Linked DNA regions of Homo sapiens: region 2 is linked to region 1. The links are contacts of gene promoters, found by promoter capture Hi-C in blood cells and fetal thymus (Javierre and others, 2016). All regions are on one chromosome and are shown on one strand. Each heading gives the region's core, a stretch centred on a gene start or on the middle of the fragment in contact. The rest is flanking DNA. Distances are from core to core; before and after follow the strand shown.

Region 1 (3,688 bases), core at 615-3,114:
GCGAATAAAATTGCACAGTTGTGTGAAGCGGAATCTCATCATATCATTAGGTTCTTTAAAGTTTTTAGATGAACTTTAAACACTAATCCTCCTTAAGTATTCCTCAGAACCTTTTCTGATTAACTGCTAAATTAGCAGGCGTTTAGAAGACCCGTTTAAGCCTAACCCTAGCCCAATAATGCCTAGTGAATGAATAACGAATAAGACTTACCTGTAGGTCACATTTCAGAAAATCCAGAAGGACAAAAAAAAAAAAAAAAAAAAAAATTCCCAAACTGCCACAATATCGCGGAAAGCATACACCAAATTCATTTTTACTAGTCATCACATCAGTTGAATATTTTTTCACTCAATTGAATATTTTTTAAACAAAACTTCAACTATTTGGCGTCTGAGCCTCTGTATCAGGTTGGAATACGAATGGGGAGAGAGGCTGCTGCTAGAAGCAACCAACGGAGAGCAACAAGTAATAGACACCGGAGATGAAGATTTTAAAAGTCGATCTACAAATTTTAAAAAATACAATCTAAGGCCAAATCTAAACCAGCCTATGTATTTCTCAAGAGCTCCTGGGGAACCTTCTAAGTACAGGTGAATGGGGGAGGGGCGGACTTCGGATTCCTTTATATTCATTTTATAACAATTTCGATAACAAGAATCCATTCTGAATCTATTCCGTTAAAGATTTTTAACACACCTGGCCATATTTATTAAATTGTGTAACTGCATGAATGTTCAAAAGTATTTTCTGATAGTTTGACCTTTACAATCTAGGCGTTATTCCCAGTCTACCGATGAGGAAGCTGGAGCACCTGGAACTCCCAAGACTTGCCCCTTAGGTAACACAGCAAGTAAGTGACTTGGGGCTAGAATCCTCGTTTTCGCATCTTGAGCTCGATTACCATCCTCAACAGACCCCAATCTTTACATCATCATACCATACAGCTAGCGCTCTCTCCCCTATTTAGCAAATCCTGCCTAAATTAATTTCTTAAGATCCATTCTAGGATTCGTTCATGAGGGATTATCCTAACAAAACGAATCCTATAATCGCCCGTTCAATTTTGTATGAAAATTTTAAATTAGTTTGGCTTACATAAACATCAGCTCCCGCAACAGAAATCACAGTACAGTACTCGGTATTTCTAGGGGTAGGAGCCTAGGAAAAAGAGACAAAGAATGTCCCTCTGTACCCTGGGGAAAGCGCCGACCTACTCGGTGCGGAGGTGGTCTTCGGAGCAGCTGCCTCAATGGCTCCGACCACCGTGGGATGCGCCCGGGAATGGGAGAAGAGAAGGGGCCTGGGACGTTCGTGCCCATTCAAAACCGATGGCTGCAGAGAGCGCGACCAACTGTCTCATTTCCCACGCCAAAGTCTGGGGAGCGAAGTTCCGACCCCAGTCCCAGTTCCAGCCCTGCCAGGCCAAGACCAGCGTATGGCCGGACCGCTGGCCATCATCCTTAACCTCTGCTCCAGGCGCGCGTGCGTTCAACTTCCTGGGAACCGCGCTCCACACCATGTGCACCCAGCTGGCGAGGATTAACGCCCAGCTCCTCCACACAACACCCCCGGGGGCCTGGCCGGGGCACCAGACACACCTGTTAGATAAACCTGAGGGCAGGCCCGCCCCAGCCCCCAGGACACACGGTCCTGCTCTCGCGCCCCGGCCCCGGTCCCTCCTCACCCGTAGAGGCCCTGCGGTCGGCGCTCCTAGCCAGGCGCGTCGGACTCTCCCCCACCAGTGTGCACAGCACCGGATCCGGATCCGGCTTCAGCGCCAGCCCCACCTCCTCCTCCACCGCCCGCGCCACAGTTGGGAACCGCGGCCCAGACGTGGCAGCGCCAACGCCTCCACCTCGCCTCTGCCCCCTCACGCAGGGCCGCGCGCAGGCGAGCGGAGGCGGAGGCCAAGGCGCCACCCGCCCAGGCCCGGAGAGCGAGGGGCGGGGCCCGGAGAGCGGGGGCGGGACCAGGAGGGCGAGGGGCGGGGCTCGGAGAGCGGGGGCGGGACCAGGAGGGCGAGGGGCGGGGCCTGAGGCTCGAGTCGCGGCGCCTGGGGCGGTGGCCGCCGGACCAAAGCTGGCCTCTCCCGGCTCCTCCTCCTCGCTCCCCAAGGCCTTTCCCACCGCGTCATTGTCTCGGTTTATCTGCAGATACGTCTACCTAGCAGTCAGCCCAGCAGCGTAAGTGGTGACCAGTGTGGGCCTCTTTGATCCTGAGACCGAAGGCTCGGCCACTGGCCCTCTCCATTTGTTCCTTGTTGCCCTCCCTTCATGATTCAATCCATTAATTAGGACTTTTCCTACCAGCTGGCAGTTCAGAGCTCCGCATCCCCAGGCCTCTGAGTCACAGTTCCTGCCTTCATGAAACTAGGAGTTGGGGCCACTGCATTCTACTCCTTCGGGACTATTGTTTCATTTCTCAGTCCCTCAAACCCTTTATTGGATGAACATGGGGTTAGGACAGCGGTTCTCCACTGCAACAGTTTTGCCTCCCAGGAGACATTTGGCAATGTATGAATCATTTTCAGCCTCTCATCTGGGGTGAGATGTCATTGGAATCTACAGATGGTGGAGGGCACAGGTGAGTAGAGGCCGGGAATACTGCTTCACGCCTTACAGTGCGCAGGACAGCGCCGCACAACAAAGAATTACCTGGCCTGAAATGTCTGGAGTGCTGAGGTTTAGAAACCTTTCGTTAGGAGAAGAAAAGTGACTTTTTTCAGAGCCCCATTTCTGAAGTGTCTTACCTAAGTAGCACTTTGTCCCTATTTTAACAGATGAGGAAACAGAGGTTCAGAGATGTTACATAATTTACAAAAGTCTCATAGCTAGTAGCTCCCCTTCCTTGCCTTGTACCATAATTTTCAATTTATTGAAATCGCAAAGTATTTTATTCTTAAGCAATAGTATTCAAAGAACCCCATAGATCATATACCAGAAATCATATTTTTTGCTCATTTGTGAGATTTAAATTTCAGTTAACTCCTTTACTGATTTATGCTTTCTCAGAACTTCAAACATCAGTGAGTTGATGGCATCCATATCTCTGTTTTTATCTCTGTTTTTACACCCATACATACAAAAGAATATATAGGGCATGAGCAGAATGTGGTGGTATGCATCCGTAGTCCCAGCTACTCCAGAGGCTGAGGCAGGAGGATCACTTGAGCCCACAAGGTTGAATCCAGCCTGGACAATAGAGCAAGACCCTGTCTCTAAAAAAAAAAAAAAAAAAAAAAAGAATATGTAAGGCATAAATAAAATAAACACTCATGGCTGGGCGTAGTGGCTCACACCTGTAATTCCAACATTTTGGGAGGCCTAAGCAAGTGGATCTCTTGAGCCCAGGAGTTTGAGACCAGTCTGTGCAACATGGTAAAAACCTGTCTCTACAAAAAAAAATACTGAAAATTAGGCAGGCATGGTGGCATGTGCCTGTAGTCCCATCTACTCAGGAGGCTGAGGTAGGAGGATAACCTGAGCCCGGGAGGCAGAGGCTGCTGTGAGCCATGATTGCAAGACTGCACTCCAGTCTGGGCCACAGAGCAAGACCCTGTCTCAAAACAAACAAAAATTTAAAAAAATGCTTATGTACACACCACTAATCTTAAGCATATGGCCCTCCCCGTTTTTCTTATCAGACTTCTGGTCAAATGTTTTCAGTGAGTTTATCCTGTACAACAAA
Region 2 (3,718 bases), core at 254-2,753, 520 kb after region 1:
AAAATTGCAGTGCACCTGCTCCTAAGGAAAACTACCTTGTCGTAGGATCGCATGCTTTTATTAAATTAGAGAATTTTAAATTGTATTTATGAGGATGTACAACTTGGGTTTCTTCCCTTAGGCTTCCTGGTCTCTGTGTTAAGTACAACTTGCCTCCAAGGTCACCCTCCCACCCTCCATAATTAGCCCAGAAATTTAACAGGGGCTTCTGGCAGCAGTTTTACCCAGCAAGCTTAGCGTAGCACTATTTGTGGTCAGATCCTGAGTGATTCAGCAGCTCTACTATCCTTAGAGTCTTGTCTCATCCCACACAAAGCCCTTTTCAGACCCAGTTTGACATTCTGATATTGTACCATGGCCCCGCAGGGTCAGGGAGTATAATGTGGTGATTCAATAGCTGTCTTGGAGCAGAAAAAGGGCATTCAGTGGTGGGTTAAAGGGCAGGCTGGTGACAAGGAGGGAGCAAGACAACATTCTACAGATTCTGCAGCTTTGCTTGGCTAGGAGCGAAACATCTCACCTCGAAAAATGGCTTCAGAGGCACAAAAATTATTTTCTTTGTTACTTAGCTTTTTAGTATCAGGACCTCAGACCTGAGTTGGTAGGGTATGACTAGATAGGAGAAGTTCCTCTCTGTGGGGTCCCTTCCTTGGCATACTGTTTTGTGGTAAATGGACTGAAACAGAATTCATTGAAGTCAACTGAAGTCACTGAGAATGTCTGCTTAAGTTGTTGAACATTACAGTTTTGGTGATATGCTTGGAAGCTAAAATCCATGACGGGCTTCTCCAAATTTTATCCTCTTATTTTCTTTGACTGGTTTCTGTACCTGGTCCAGTTTTAAAAGCTATTTGTGACCATGCTGGATGTCAGAATAAGAGAGCACTCAAGAGAAGTGAGATTATTGGGTTTGGTCCATGGGATATTTCATACCTAGAGTAGCCTTCCATTTCAGAGCTATTTTAAAGCTGGTTCCTCACTTTGTTGAGAGCAGTTGAGAGCAAACTGATGGATGGGGATGTGAGAAATAAGTTCTCCTGGACATGATTTGCAGTCTATACATATTTACCTTTTAGAGAAAAAGGAAATGACAGCCACAATTTGTCCTTCGCTGATTAACATGCCATTTCTCACTGTTTTGATAAGCAACAACAACAATAAATCCCACCTCTTGCCATATTTCTCAGACCTGGGAAACTTGTGTTAAGTCAAACTTTGTTCCAAGTTGACTGTCCCACTCTGAGGGCAACTTGAAGGGGTGACAATGCCTAGATGATCTGAGTTTTACTAATACTAAGCAAATTGTGGTTATTTGCTTCGGGCAGACTGAAAGGAAATTTATCCTTGCAACATTTATGAAGATCTTGTTTGCTAAGCAACTTAGTATTATCAAGGAAGGTGGGATTGTATTGTAGAGAACTGCTTTGCTAGATAGCAGGACATTTAGGATCTGGTTTCATTCTGGCACTCACCAACTGTGTGATCCTGGCTTTTATCTTTTTAGCCTAAGTTTCCTCATCTGGAAAGTGGTTGGCATGATGATTTCTGTAGTCCTTTTAAGTTTTAGAATACCATAATCTACCTTTGCAAGAAGAAGAGTCATTTTTGAGGAATATAGATAACATTCTAATTAATCTCGTATCTTCATTTAAATAGACTTTGAAATATTATGTGAGCAGTTAAAATATAGCCCCTATTCATCTATATGTCTATCTCTCATCTACCTCTTTTTTCATTCTTTTCATTCATCTGCCTACCTGTATATATAATATTGGGTTATCAAGTAGGCAGATTAAGCCTGTACTCAAGCAGTGGTACCAAAAATATTTTGGAAATAATTTGATATATGAAAAAACTTATCAAAATGGTCATTCTGAGAAAAATTACCTTTATTAATTTCTTTATACCGATTTTATGTGTTAACATTGTATATATGGGAAGTAGTAGTCTTGTAACCTTTTAGTTTTTAGGGCTTCTATAGGTATTTATTTATTTATTTATTTAATTAATTTCAATAGTTTTTTTTGGGGAACAGGTGGTGTTTGGTTGCATGGAAAAGTTCTTCAGTGGTGATTCTGAGATTTTGGTACACCTGAGCAGTGTACACTGCACCCTATTTGTAGTCTTTTATCCCTTACCCCCCTCCCACGCTTCACCCTGAGTCCCCAGAATCCATTATTTTATTCTTAGGTGTTTGGGTCCTCATAGCTTAGCTTCCACTTATAAATGAAAACATGTGACTTTTGGTTTTCCATTTCCGAGTTACTTCATTTAGAATAATGGTCTCCAACTCCATCCAGGTTGCTACAAATGCCATTATTTCATTCCTTTTTATGGCTCAGTAGTATTCCATGGTGTGTGTGTGTGTGTGTGTGTGTGTGTGTGTGTATGTATGTATCTCACATTTTCTTTATCCACTTGTTGGTTGCTTTCATGTTTTTGCAATTGAGAATTGTGCTGCTATAAACGTGTGTGCAAGTGTGTTTTTTCATATAATAACTTATTTTCCTCTGGGTAGATACCCAGTAGTGGGACTGCTGGATCAAATTGTAGTTCTACTTTTAGTTCTTTAAGGAATCCCCATACTATTTTCGATAGTGTTTGTACCAGTTTACATACCCACCAGAAGTATAAAAGTGTTGCCTTTTCACCACATCCGTGCCAACATCTGTTAACATTGTTTTGGTCAATCTTTCCCACTTGGAATGGCTGTATTTGCCCAATGCCTGTACCCCTGTTGTATCTAGGAAGTAATTAACATGCTTTTAATTTTACAAGCTTATAGGTGGAAGGGACTTGCCTTTTCTCAGATGAGACTTTTGACTGTGGACTTTTGAGTTAATGCTGAAATGAGTTAAGACTTTAGGGGACTGTTGGGAAGCCATCATTGGTCTTGAAATGTGAGGACATGAGATTTGGGAGGGGCCAGGGGTGAAATGATATGGTTTGGCTGTGTTGCCACCCAAATCTCATCTTGAATTCCCATGTGTTGTGGGAGGACCTGGTGGGAAGTAATTGAATCATGGGGTAGGTCTTTCACATGGGAAAGAGGTTTCCCTGCACAAGTTCTCTTTCCCTGCTGCCATCCATTTAAGACATGACTTGCTCCTCCTTGCCTTCCACCATGATTGTGAGGCCTACCCAGCCATGTGGAACTGTAGTCCATTAAACCTGTTTATTTTGTAAATTGCCCAGTCTCAGGTATGTCTTTATCAGCAGCATGGAAACAGACCAATACATCACCCTAATACCAAAACCAGGAAAGGACATAACAAAAAAAGGAAAACTACAGACCAATATCCCTGATAAAAACAGATGCAAAAATCCTCCACAAGATACTAGCTAACCAAATTCAACAGCATATCAAAAAGATAATACACCGTGATCAAGTGGGTTTCATACCAGGGATGGTTTAACATGTGCAAATCAATAAATGTGATACATCACATAAACAGAATTAAAAACAAAAATTATATGATCATCTCAACAGATGCAGAAAAAGCATTTGGCAAAATCCAGCATCGCTTTGTGATTAAAATCAGCAAAATCGGCATATAAGAAACATACCTTAAGGTAATAAAAGCCATCTAGGACAAACACACGGCCAACATTATACTGAATGGGGAAAAGTTGGAAGCATTCTTCTTGAGAACTGGAATAAGACAAGGATGCCCAGTTTCACCACTGCTATTCAACATTGTACTGGAAGTCCTAGCCA

Evidence for each region. Contacts are between HindIII fragments. The CHiCAGO score rates a contact against its expected background, and 5 or more counts as called.
Region 2: a fragment that was not itself captured here is called in contact with the fragment with the promoter of GNPNAT1 in region 1 in 3 of 17 cell types (erythroblasts, M2 macrophages and fetal thymus); the score reaches 8.9 in erythroblasts.

What each region holds. Positions count from the first base shown.
Region 1 is chr14:52,789,743-52,793,430 of GRCh38, forward strand. GNPNAT1 (glucosamine-phosphate N-acetyltransferase 1) reads right to left here and starts at 1,865. Exons shown (of 6, transcript NM_198066.4): 1 at 1,686-1,865. It overlaps LOC105370500 (a long non-coding RNA gene), which reads left to right and starts at 2,046. Exons shown (of 3, transcript XR_943867.3): 1 at 2,046-2,584. RefSeq lists enhancers at 1,092-1,181, 1,262-1,351, 1,459-1,972, 1,973-2,487 and silencers at 1,662-1,741, 1,842-2,061. The HindIII fragment of the contact is 20,059 bases long and covers 1-3,688 here.
Region 2 is chr14:53,306,798-53,310,515 of GRCh38, forward strand. No RefSeq gene overlaps it. Among named protein-coding and RNA genes, the nearest start is that of DDHD1-DT, 160 kb to the left of the region's middle. The HindIII fragment of the contact is 2,546 bases long and covers 231-2,776 here.